Linked DNA regions of Homo sapiens: region 1 is linked to region 2. Evidence: promoter capture Hi-C in human tissues and cell types (Jung and others, 2019). All regions are on one chromosome and are shown on one strand. The core of a region is centred on a gene start or on the middle of the fragment in contact, and the rest is flanking DNA. Distances in the headings are between cores, read along the strand shown. Region 1 holds the start of ANP32A-IT1 (ANP32A intronic transcript 1). Region 2 holds the start of CORO2B (coronin 2B).

What was found. The method cuts DNA at HindIII sites, captures the fragments that hold promoters and counts their contacts. A contact is called where the count stands out against the background at its distance.
Region 1: a contact is called between a fragment that was not itself captured here and the fragment with the promoter of CORO2B in region 2, in 1 of the 25 tissues and cell types used here (dorsolateral prefrontal cortex).

Annotation. Positions count from the first base shown.
Region 1 is chr15:68,803,930-68,810,621 of GRCh38, reverse strand. All of the region lies in intron 1 of ANP32A (acidic nuclear phosphoprotein 32 family member A), which reads left to right. ANP32A-IT1 (ANP32A intronic transcript 1) reads left to right here and starts at 3,521. Exons shown (of 1, transcript NR_026808.1): 1 at 3,521-6,692. The HindIII fragment of the contact is 4,122 bases long and covers 2,811-6,692 here.
Region 2 is chr15:68,575,788-68,582,285 of GRCh38, reverse strand. It overlaps CORO2B (coronin 2B), which reads right to left and starts at 3,293. Exons shown (of 12, transcript NM_006091.5): 1 at 3,009-3,293. The coding sequence starts at 3,023. RefSeq lists an enhancer at 2,238-3,105. The HindIII fragment of the contact is 24,079 bases long and covers 1-6,498 here.

The DNA of each region.
Region 1 (6,692 bases), core at 3,622-6,121, 230 kb before region 2:
CTGTATTCTCTCCAGTTGGAAATTTGTCCTTCCTCACTGACAGCTGCAGGTACTGCGTGCTGCTCTCTGAGGTTTGAAGTTTACTGCTTGAGTAAGCTTGAGACCCACCTGATGTCTCCACCTGGGTGCTCCAAAAGTGCCCTACTCTTAAGTCCAAAGGGAACCCATGTCCTCTGTCCCTTGCCCACCACTGCCCACACACACACACTCATGATCCTCTTTCCATCCATCATCATCACAAGTCTTGTCTGTTTAAAACATGCTCTGTTGCTTGCCACTGATCTCCCTGTATCATAGTCTAGTCTTCTTGAAGCCATGCTGTGACCTTCAACTAGAATGATCTTATCAAAACACACATGTAATGTCACCCCATACTTAAAATTCACCATTGTTCCTAGGATAAAGTCCCAAATCTTTAATAAGACCAACAAGGTGCTGCATGGTCTGGCCACTTCCCGTCATCTGTTCCCTTGCCCCACTCTCTCTGGGCCTCCCTGGCTGCCTCTCATTCCTGCAAACCTGTGCCACACTGAGATTGCCACTGTATCCAGTTAGCATCTAGTCATCTTTACCATCTCCAGCCTCCTCCGTCAGGTTTAGATCTAGTTCTTTTGCCAGAAAACTCTTACAGAACTTTTCCCTCAGAGTGCTTCAGTTTGTAACTACATATTCCAGATTATGAGTGTTTAATTAGCATCTCTGTCCCCTTGCCTAATGGGTGCACTGCACGATTTGAGGGACTTGCTTTTGCTCATCATTGTGGTCTTCAGAGCTCCACACTGTGCCTGGCACATGGTAAGCATTCTAGAAGTACTGATGGAGTGAAGGATCTGTGGTACTTATACCTTCTTGTCACTTTCATCACCTACCGGTTGGTACATCAAGCACGAAGCCACTGAAACGAAGCGCACACCTTCACACCCGCACCCCCACGCCCGCTGGTGTGACTTTCTGATGGAGTTGCTCTGGGTGGGTGATGCACACTTCTTAGGTCGCTGGTCATCATGTTTTTCTCATTATCACATCCCTTATCAGTAAACAATTTGAACCTGAGCCCCAGTATGTCTACCTTGCAGTTATGGATTATTCACATACACTACCTATAAATATGGACATTATAAAATGTAACGCCAAAAATATAAATTAAAAAGGATACATTTAAACATCTAAAAAGTCCTGAAATTCTTGCATCCCAGTGGATTGGCTTGGGCAGTCCACATAAGAGACTACTGTTCTAATTAATTGCTCGTTTTATTTTAAATTCAGTTACTAAAGTTCACTCTGTAAAAGAAACGCTCATACCTTCCTAGACACTGCTTGTTAAGATCTCTCCAGCTCTAGTGTGTGATGAGTAGGGGTAGGGGACATTCACAGTCTCCCTTTAATACAATAAGCTAGCTTGCCCGAGATCCTTGGTGAATCAAGGCTCCACTGCCGTGTGTCAGCTTGGTGCTCTTTGTTTAGGCTGTGTGGACAGATCCACCAAAGTCCCCTCCAGTCACCCCTGGGGTCCCACAGAGGTAAACCCCCGGGTTCTCTCTGCCCATGTCCTGAGAGGCCAGGAAGTAGCTACGATAAGGATTCCATCAGCCATAGACTCAGGGTGGGTGGGAAGGTGGCTTTCTCCTAGTTATCTTGGAGTGGGGAACAAGTAAGAGGCAGGATGTGTGGGCTGGAAGGGCAGAGACAGAGGTGCACAGTGAAGCTTGAAAGAGAGAGGCCCGCAGAGTGTGTTTGCTGAGAGATTTCAGCAAAGTTGTGCTGGAACTCTGCAGCCAGCAGTGCCCAGTGCTGGGTTTCTGGATTCTGCTGCCTCCTGTAGAATTCGTGAGAACTACGTGTGTATGCATGTGCGTGTGCAGGGGGTGATAGGGTGGAGGCAAGGGCCTGTCATTCTCAATTTAGAGGAATTACTTTCAGATTTCTTCAGGGACCATGCATCTGGAGGAGGGACTCATCTTCAATTTATGTAACCAACTGTCACCTTAGCCATTGGCTTCATGGGCAGGCCTAAGTGGTGTAACTGAATGGACGGGTGAGGGGAGTCCACTGATATGGCCTGTGTGCCCAGCATCGGGAATGAGACAAGGAGTTGTATAAATGCTATGTAAGTATTTTTGTAGCAAATTTAATTTCTTGAATCCAGTCCTTGCATCCTGGGCTGGGTAGGAGAGAAGAGAGTGGTTATAGTGGATGGTGGTGCCTGGCTCCTGTGGTGGAGCTGGAGTGATGGAGCATAGCACATACACTGCAGGGAAGAAGGTGTGTGGTTAGTAAAGCCGATTTCAACCCCAGCTGTGGATCAGAACTGCCAGGGGAGCATCTGAAGCAATACCCAGGCTCTGCCTGAACTGAATCAGTCTCTGAGGGTGGTGCCCCAGTCCGTGTATTTTTAGAAAGCTCTAAAGGGGACTCTAAAGCACAGTTGGGAACCACCCCATGGAGCAGGGTGCAGAGCTTCACAGCAGGTAGGAAGAAGTAACTAAGTGGAAACTAGAGGAAAATGGAGCAGAGAAACCAGGAAATAGGAAAGAAGGATGCAGGATTTAATCTGCTGGGGTTCAGGGATCCGCTCCTTGACCTGCCCCCCACATCCCCACCACCATGGGATTGTTCACACAACCACGTTCTGCTCATCACACTTGGAATTTTTCATTTACGTGTATCTCAGGATGCTGCTCCTGGGAGTGTCAAGTGGGCATTACCGATCAAGACTGGACTTGGCCCATCCTTCATGTCCAGCTCTTGAGAGGCCGTGGACCTTTTGTAAAAGGGCGGGGGCCCAGGCGCAGACCCAGGCAGTCAGGTACAGTGGGCAGTAGTGCTTGAGAACTGCTGAGCCTGAGGATGTTGGCAGGTCACCTCACTGAGCCTCAGTTGCCACATCTGTGAAACGGTGAATAACCTGCTTCCCAGAGCTTGTTGTTAGCACGGAAAGAAATATCGTTTATGCCAGGTATGGGTTGTAGACGGACCCTGAAGGTTAGATTCTACCCGTCAGGGCTTGAATGAGCTGTTTGGTCAGCGGTGGGGGTGGGGTGGAGTCAGCCCCTCTCCAGAAGGTGCTTGCTGGGGTGGGAGCAAGTCTGAGAAGAGCTGTCTCGGCCTGCCCCAGGAGGAGGCCTCGCCTGGAGCTGTGAAGCGGAGGGGAGGGGCAGGGAGGCTCTGGGCAAAGGAGAGACTCCCCCCCCCCCGTTTTCTGTGGAGGTGGGGCGGGAGGAATACCAGCCAAGCTGCAGGCATCCCCTTGCCCCGGGCCTCTTCTGGGGTGGGGGCTGTCGCGCTGGCTCACCTTTCCCATAGCAGTTGCTCCGTGACCCTAGCCTTCTTGCCTTTAAACTCCCCTCTGGCTGCAGAAGTCTGGGCCAGCCTCTCCCAGTCCTTTATCTTTCATTCATACAGCTCCTGAGAGGTCCCCTTTTCTGGGAAGCCCTCCTCAACTCACTGGAAGAAAGGGAGCAAACTGTGTCCACCTAGGTGACATAAAGGTAAAAGTCCTGGGGACTTCCAGGGCACGCAGCAGCGTTCGCCTCTCAGCCAAGTCCAATAGCACTCACTTAGGTGTGCATCTGTGGCTTTCTCTCTGTCTGGTCAGTGCTCCTTTATATGTCCATACCCCCTGCCAGAGGGCAGCATTGACGGTGTACAGAGCCCAGTGTGACTCTCCTGCAGCTGGGGACATAGAAGAGCTCTGTGACGATGGCAGATGTGGTTCTCCAGCCTCTTGCCTGGCTGCCAGTGGGAGTAGCCTGTCTGTTCTGGCACAGGGGGCTGTTCCATATGGAGGGTCAGAAACTGGCCTTCACAGCCACCCAGGCGTTCCTTCCACTTCTGCACGTCTTCCTTTCCCCATGAAGATTTGGGTGTACCCTGGTTGTGGTCTCTGAAGACTGGGCAGGCCTGTACTTTGTGAAGCTTTCAGCTGTCTCTGGTAGGCCTGATGAAGCCTATCTGCAGAGGTTGGCCTGAAGCCATAATGAGCAGTTCTGTTCTTTTTAGCCCTTGTCTAGTTTATGGCTCTGTTGCAGACATGCCTTTCTGTGTCTTGGTTAAAAGTACTGGTGTGTCTTTGCATTTAGGTGTGGTCTGTGAGTCTGGGAAGGCTTCTAGAGGAGAGCCCTCCAGGGTTGCTCTTTGGGGTGGGAGTAGTGGGAGCGGAAATGGAACGCTGACTGCCCTCTTAAAGCCAGAAGGGTACTTCATTCAGGGCAGGCAGTTGGCATGTGTAGGCACTCAGGAGTCTTCCTTCAGTTTCAGCGGCCGGTGTTCATCATCAGGAGTGGCAGGGTTGGATATGGGAGTGAGAATGTGCCTCTGAGATTGACCAGTGGCCATAGACTCCAGCAAGATGTGCATCTTGGTCTGAGAGGCACCCACTGTACCAGAAACCAGACTTGTATCGACCAATGGCTTATTAGCCCCAGGAGGCTTATTACTGCCACAAATGTCCCTGATGGTGAGCAGCACTTGGCCACTACTGTCTGATGTTAACCAGAGTTATGGGGGTGGTTTCTGCAAATACACAATACTGTGGAGGGGTTATGTGGCTTACCCAGAGGTGCCCAGATAGCAAATGAAGGTGTAAGATTGGAATCCCTGTCTTTCTGGTTGACCCTTGGCTTGGCTAATCATTCATTCATTCATTCCACACACATTGATGAATGCCGACTCTGTACTGGGTTCTGTTCTAGGAACTAGACAGACACATCACCTATGCTGCTCTTGTGGGGCTTCTGTTCCGCTGGGGGAGACAGTCAGTAGTAAGCCTTCAAGCAAAGGCATGGCTGCTGGTGTGATGAGTGCCATGAAGACCCATAAGGCTGCGTTAAAGGAGATGGGTGGTCCAGGAAGGCCTCTCTGAGGAGGTGGCATTTGAGCACTCAAGTGCCTTACACTGGACTTCTGACCCCATGAGCTGGAACTTAGGATATCTGATCTAGAAGTACCTCTAGAAGTCCTCTTCCCAATAAACAAGCTAAGGCCCAGTGAGCTTAAGGTGTGAATTCATGGGATGATTCATGGGAAAGATGAAATTAAACCCAAGAAGGACAAGTATAATAGCCGGCCACTGCTCTGCTCACACCAGCCTTGGGCTCCAGCCCTCTGCCTTTTCATCCCAGAATGTGTTTTATTATCTTCAAGACTCAGCCCTTTGAAAGATTTAGACTTCCAAATTGCATTTATTAACAATAATACATTTATTTTCTCATGGCTGGGTGTGGGGAGGGGGTAGAAATTTTAAACACATTTGTGACGGTTGATCAGCCCTCCAGGTAAGGCAACGGCTGACTGCCTGGAGCTGGTGTTTTTCCTGCCTAGGCGGAGACACCGCCCAATTTTGTACCACCAGCTGCCGTCACTGTCAGAGTGGAATTTCCATTGGTGTTTCTGAAATAGCAGTGTTTCCTGGAGGACCCCCATTTGTACTTTCTGGATTCCATCTGGACCTGGTTTAGGGGGTTAGATGCTTTTGAATGGGGGCTGGAGAGACCCTACTGATGCCTCTGACCAGAGATGGTGAGGCAGGACTCACAGGGCCCCCAGGGTTTATTTTAGGGAGAGAGAAGCCCACAGTTAAATCAGAGGTCACAAATACAGCAGCAGACCCCACCTCTCCCAAGGACCAGACTGAGCTATAATTGGCCAATAATTTCATCTAAAAGCAGGAATCCTACATCAATTTGAAAGGAGCTTCTGGCTGAAGTAAGACTTTATTAATTAGCCTGTTAGGAAAATAGTTTCCCAGTATTATGAGGGCTGGATAATTTCATGCCCACTGTTTTTCTTGAAGCTTCTCAAAGGCAGACACAGCCGCGTGCAGCGGCTCACGCCTACAATCTCAGCACGTTGGGAGGTCGAGGCAGGTGGATCACGAGGCCAGGAGATCGAGACCATCCTGGCCAACATGGTGAAACCCCATCTCTACAAAAATACAAAAATTAATTGGGCGTGGTGGTGGGCGCCTGTAATCCCAGCTACTCAGGAGGCTGAGGCAGGAGAATCAGAGGTTGCAGTGAACCGAGATTGTGCCACTACACTCCAGCCTGGCCACAGAGCGAGACTCAGAAAACAAGGGAAGACACTAGATTTTCATTTTTGTACTAAATAGAAAAAGTAATATCTTTTTAAAAATGTGTTTTGTTTGTTTTTAACTGTTTGTTCATGCCAATGTGCCAGGCACCATATTTATTCTTTAATCTATACAGAAATGCTGCTGGATGAATGGAATTATGCTCACTCTGCCAATGAGGGAACCAAGGCTCAGAAAGGTTAAGTAACCAACCTAAGGTCAGGTAGTACTGAGGAGCTGTGCTTGGATACAAAACCAGGTCATCCAACCTGGAATCTTAGCTTTGACCCCCAACCTTCTCCCGGCAACTTTGATGATAATATGGAAATACCTTAGACTCTTGACTTGACTTTACTTTCTCTTCTCTGTTATAAAATCTGCTACATTTCTTTTCCTGGGAAAGCGAAATAGATTATGCCAAAAGTTCTGATTTTTAAAAATGTTTTATTGTGGGCCGGGCGCAGTGGCTCATGCCTGTAATCCCAGGACTTTGGGAGGCCGAGGTGGGTGGATCATGAAGTCAGGAGATCAAGACCATCCTGGCCAACACAGTGAAACCCCATGTCTACTAAAAATACAAAAATTAACTGGGCTTGGTGGTGCACGCCTGTAATCCCAGCTA
Region 2 (6,498 bases), core at 2,044-4,543:
ACTAAATTACATACAATCAAATAAAGTTTAAAACATAGCCAGGAGAAATGCCACAGGGCTAGAAGTTCTCCGGGGCTCTGTGTTCCTAAGGCTAGTTAGGGCAGGAGTCCTTCAGAAACCACAGGGTTTGCCGGCAGCTTTAGCAGCTGTGCCTCATGGTTAAGGGGGCAAGGGGATGTATGAAAGAGAGGCGGAAAATGGAAAACAGGCTCACCTCCTCTACAGAAGTGCTACTGAGGATCTAGCAACTTGCCATCTGCTTTCCTCTTCTCCACTTGCCAGGCCTCTCTGAGCTCAGAGCTCCTGCAGTCCATACCTAACCCTGGCCCAGAGGACTCTGCCCTGAGGGGACCTGATACAAGGACTAAGGCATTCGTCCAAGGGGCAGGAAGTTGGGACCCAGCCATGACCCTCTGCCTGGAGAAGCAGCAGCAGAGAAGGCTAGAGCCCTAGACACTGCCCTGGGAGCTCACTCTCGAACCCATTTCCTCCCCTACCTACCGCTCCCAGTGTGTCAGCAGCGATCCTACCTCTCACACCCTCTTTAGGGTTCTCCTTCATATCTGTCTTGTAAACAGACCACCCCTCAGAGAACAAAGAGTCTCCCAATCTCCATCAGAGGTGACTTTCTTGCCAGAACTGAAGCTGCACCAAGGCTCAGCAGAAGAGGCCCTAGAGATCATTGGAACCAAGTCTTACATTTGACAAATAGAAAAACAGAGGCCCAAGGATGGAAGTGACTGGTCCAAGGTCACACAGCCTGTTGGTGGCTAATTTAGGACTAGGGGCCAGGCCTTCAGACTTCCAGAGCATGGTGGCTTTCCCTATGGTACTGGAAGAGCTACTACCAGCGGGCTTGTAGACAGCAAAGCAGTCCCCAGTGCCTTTCCTGCATCCCTCTTGCTCTCTGTTCCCCACAAGAACACGCTGGTCTGTGAAGGGCCAGCAAGGGGAGAGAAGATAGGGTTAAGGTGGGGATTTTATTTAATCCCCTGAGCTTGCTTAAGCCAAAGCCACATTGGTTAGAGCAGGAGGTGAGCGACATGGAGGGTTTGTTGGGGGCTGGGTATGGGGGTGGAGGAGTGTTGAATAGTTACTGGATACCAAGAAGCTAGGCCTGCCAGTGGGCTTAACAGGTAAGCACCCACTTTCATGGACTCCCTGTCCCATCCCTGCTTCAAGGTTCAGGTCTCCAAGCAGTGCTCCTCTACCATGGAAGTCCCCCAGTAGCCAGGATGCCCAACGATGCAGAGCAGTGCAAAGATCACTGGCCATAGATTGAGACAGACTTGAGGGCAAACCCCAGCTCTGCCACATACATGCTGTGTGACCTCAGGCAAGTCATTTCACCTCTCTGAGCCTCAGTTCCTTCCACTGTTAAAGAGAACTGAACACACCTTCCTTGCAGGCCTCCAGGGAAGGAAGGCTGCATGAGCTCGCGCACAAAAAGAGACACAGGGGAGGCGCTGAGTTAATCCTCAGCGCTATTATTAAAACCTCACACCCTTTCTCTCTCTAGCCGGGCCCATCCATTACTCCTCTGTCCCAGCCTGCTTGCATCTTTGACATTAATAACCTTAATATCCCTCCCAGCTGAATAGCATTTGCATCATTTCAAAACCCTAAGCATCTTACCCCAGGTGGGCCACAACAGCCCTGCCAGAAGTAGCCAGAGCTGAGGAAGCCCCTGCACCCTCAAGTTCATCTTCTCACAATGCTCCCAAGTCCCAGAACCAGGGCCAATGGCAAAGTTTGGAGTTGGGCCCAAGAATCCGCACAAACATTCAGTCTTGGGGCAGACCTCAGGAGGGCAAGGGTAGGCCCTGGCTTACCAGAAGGAGCCAAAACCACCCCACCTCCATCACTTGCACCCCAACCCTCCATCTGGCCCCACTGCTCTGACCCTCCATCTGACCCCACTCTGGGCTGCCGGTCCCACTTTGGCCTCCAGCTCCCCAATTCTGGGACCCAGCTGGGCAGCTGGAAAGGGTGGAGTCTGGCCCTTGAATGGACGGCCAAGCCCGAGGCCACCGCCAGACTGTGAGCTCAGTACCCAGACAGATCTCTCTGAAGAGTGTGGGTTCACACCCTTGATGTTATTGGTTCTTTAACAGCCTGTCACAACCCAGGACCCATATTATCACCCTCACAGCACACAAGAAGAAACTGAGGCCCAAAGTGGACCCCTCCCCGACCAAGGTCATCCAGGGGATCTGGGATAGAGCTGGGATTGAACTCAGGTCTCCCTGGTCCCTTGACCCTGGCACTTTCCACTGCCCCATCATCTTTCCTCTTAACTCTTTCCTCCCTACAACTAGGAAGCCCCTGAAGTCTCTCCAATAAACGTGGGCCCCTATGACAAGGCCCAACAATCATCCTCCAATATGGGGGCTGCCAAGATGCCCACCTTTGCTTCCCCTGTCACATTCCCTCCCCACATCTTCAAGCCAACCACCTGGACCTGCCCTGTCTCTGGTAGCGGCTCCCGGGACTGGGCAGCGCCTTCTGCACAGAGTGGCTTTGGAGTGGAGCCAGCGCTCCCGGCATGGGCGGCAGAGGCTGGCAGGTGGGGTGGGGTTTCCCCTCCGCTGGCCTCCTCGGGGCGGCAGGCCCATCCCCACACCCACTGCTCAGCACCAGCCCCTGCCAGCGACGCTTCCCGCCGCGCACTCCCTGGAGGGACACCGCTAGCCGCCCAGCCCAGCTCTCCAGGGGTTAAAAATGCAGCATCCCAAACAAGGGTTAAAAATGCAGTCCCGGGGTTGGGCCGGGCGCGGAGGGATGTTGGCCAAACCGCCGGGGCTGCCAGAGCGGCATCCTCCCCCTGGCCTCCGCAGTCCTTGGGGGCCGGAGTGACTCGAGCGGATCCGGCAGCAAGAGAGGCGCGCGCCGCACCTTCCCGGCACCGGCGCCCCCTCCCCACACCCACACCCCCGCGCCCCCCGCAGCCTAGCCCGGGGGATGCAGGCGCCGGCGGGTCCCGGGCGCGGCGGGCGAGCGGCGCTTACCTTTGTGACAGTCATGCAGAAACTCCGCGGCGGAGCGGGGGCGCGGGCGCGGCGTGCGGGGGCGGCGGCGGCGGCCCGGGGCGGCGGCGGAAGGGGGTCCGGCAGCTCCCGGCTCGCTCCCCGCGCCCCGCCGGCGGCTCGGCCGAGCCTGGGGGCTGCGCTCCGGGCGGGCAGCGCGCAGGGACCGCTCGTCGGCGCTCGCCCGCCGCTCGTCGCTGATGTCAGCCCCGAATGTGCATTTATAATAGATGAGCCTCCTTCGCCGCAGGAAGGCGAGGCAGGAAGAAAGGGAGAGAGGGAGAGGGCCCGGGCTGGGGGGCGGGGGGAGGAAGAGGGGCCGGGAACTCGCTACAAAGGAGGAGGCGGAGGGAGGAGGAGGAGGAAGCGCAGCCCGCCAGCGGCCGTGCCCCGAGCCTCCCGCTCGATCGCCGGCCGCCGGGCACCGCTGCTCCCGGAGTCCGGACGGGCGCCCGGGTCCGCGGCCTTAACCCCTTCGGGCCTGCGGACGCCACGCGGCTGGGCGAGGCTGGCTCCCGGCACCTGCCGGCTGGGAGAACGGGCGGCGCCCCGGGCTCTCGGGTGTCCCGCTGGCCCGGGGACGCTGGTGAAGTCACAGGCTGGACGGCCGAGGCGCTGCGCGGGCAAAGAAGGCGGTCGGGTTCGCCCCCTGGAGGCTCGCAAAGTCGGCCCGTGGGCCGTGAGTGTGGCGCGGCGGGCTGGGAGGGGCGTGGCAGCCGCAAGCCCGGGAGCCCTGCCCGCACCCCCACCTCGCGCTGGCCCGGGGCACAGGGTGGCCAGACGGATTTGTGTAAGCACTCTTTCGAATCTAATTCCCGCCGCGATGACTTGCCCGAAGGCCGCCTTAGTGAGTTTTGCAGAGGAGGAAACTGACGATCAGAGTGGGACGGACGTGGGAAGTGACTTAGACCACAGCACAGGACCTGCCTGCCCGAGCCGTTCCTCCCGCTCTTTCCACTCGGCCGCTAGCTCCCTAAGGAACCTCTTGTTATAGAAGCTGCCCTGCCCTAGGACTGTCTACACTACCACTGAGTGCCGCTCTACTGGTGGAGTGATAACACAGGTGCGTCCTGTGTGTTGATCCAATCCTGACTCGGGGCACAGTGTGTCCTGGAGCTGCTGCGGAGATTTGAGGGACAGTCACCTGAAGGTGACCTCGCAAGTCTTGAGAAAGGAGTCTCCCTCCCAAGCACCTGAGCAGAACCGGTTTCCGCAGATACAGAACCGCGGAGAGGGTGGAGGGGAGGAGTTAGCAGAGGTGGAAGCAGAGGGGTTCTCCAAGCAGGACAGCCTGGCAAGCCCGGAAGTGCTGGCTTCCTGCTCCACGGTAATTACCGGTGCAATTCACCTGGACAGCGAAGGCAACGTCATATATGAGCACCTGCTCTGTGGAAAGTGCTGGGGGAACAGAGAGGAGATGGGATGCCTGCCTTCCGGGAGACCAGTGTCTAGATTGGAGCAATAATAATAGAGTAACCAGCCTCCAGGAAGTGCTTTGTGGGTCATTGTGCAATTTTTTTTTTTTTTTTTTTTTTGAGACCGGAGTAGTCTCACTCTGTCGCCCAGGCTGGAGTGCAGTGGCGCGATCTCGGCTCACTGCAACCTCCGCCTCCTGGATTCAAGCGATTCTTCTGCCTCAGCCCCCCGAGGATCTGGGACTACAGGAACGCGCTACCACGCCCGGCTAATTTTTTATTTTTATTAGAGACGGGGTTTCACCGTATTGGCCAGGCTGGTCTCGAACTCCTGACCTCGTGATCCACCCGCCTCGGCCTCCCAAAGTGCTGGGATTACAGACATGAGCAACCGCCCCCGGCCCTGCCATTTTTAACCACATTTTCTTGGGAGTCCTAAATGCAACAGTGTGAGGAAAGAATTACCGTCCCCATTTTGCTGATGAGTAAACGGATTTAGAGAAGGGAAGGGAATTGCCCAAGAGCACACAGTGACAGAGCGAGGACTTGAATGAAAGTCTTCTTAAATCAAGCTCAGCATTGTGCTTTGAATCCGTGAACTGCAGGGTCCATTCCTACTTGCTGCCTTATTTGAGTTTCACAGGTGTCTTAGGACATAGGTAGGCAGCTATTCGTTCCCCAGGGGAGTTCCAGGGACTTACTAAATCTCTTGGGTAGCAGATGTGCTGCAGACCTCAGGCGTCTCCTCTGTGCAAAACCCTTCCTAAGGCATCTTCCCACGTTGCTTGCCTGCCAGGAATGCTCTCTTATTCTTCTGCACTAACTCAAACGCATCCCACCTCTCACGGCACCACCTCCTTGCCACCTCTCCTGACAACTCCAGCCCAATGGCTCTCCCTGTTGCATTTAGTTCTGAGGGTCTGGTCTCATTTTCATGAGCCTCTGAGCACAGAGGCATGCCTTCTCTCACTGTGTACCCCTGGGCACATAGTAGGAGCTTAGCAAATATTTAATGCCACCAAGAACAAATCAAGCAAAATATACCTTTAACCTGCAGCAGAGGAAATTTAAATTAGGCCCATGAAAGCATTTCCCACCAGCGAGCTGTCCAGCATTGGAAGAGTCAGATTCCCTGTCTCAGCTGTCTTGGGCAGGTCAGCCTCTAGCCAGAAGGATGGAGCTCAAGACCTTTCCAGGGCCCTTCCAGCCCTAGGACCCCATCGGAAACCTTTAAAGGGCAACTCAAGGACACCAGTCACCCTGCACCCATGGCTGTGACTTGTCTGTCCACTTTTATATCTTACAGAGATTTCAAATCCCAGATTGTCATCCTGAGCTCCCAGCATGCCTCTTGGCACCTTTCCCGCCATCCGCCGTTGTTGTGGGCTCTGAGAATGAGACAAGTACTTAATAGCAGCTTGAGCCAAATGTAATTAGGAACATCAATCTGCTGCCCCCAACCCATGTGATGTTCTCCAAAGGCAGAAGGAAAATGTTTCTGATCCCTCCTGTGCTGCTGGCTCACCTCTTCTGTCACATCTCCCCAGGCAGAAGGGAGGTCTAGAAAAGCAAGGGCAAACTCAGACAATGCCACATCCCCTTGTGCCCAGTCACGGCCTCTGCATGTAGGAGATACTGAGAAATACATGCATTTTCTTTCTTTCTTTCTTTTTTTTTTTTTTTTTTTTTTTTGCGACGTAGTCTCACTCTGTCACCCAGGCTGAAGTGCAATGGCGTGGTCTTGGCTCACTGCAACTTCTGCCTCTCGGGTTCAAGCGATTCTCCCACCTCCACCTCCTGAGTAGCTGGGACTACAGGTGCCCGCCACCCCACCTGACTAATTTTTGTATTTTTAGTAGAGATGGGGTTTCACTATGTTGGCCAGGCTGGTCTCGAACTCCTGACCTTGTGACCTGCCCGCCTCGGCCTCCCAAAGTGTTGGGATTACAGGTGTGAGCCACCACACCCAGCCAATACATGCATTTTATATGTGCGATTGTTAACACCACAACACTACTCATCCTGGGTCTCCAGTAACATAGCCCATCTTAGTTTGG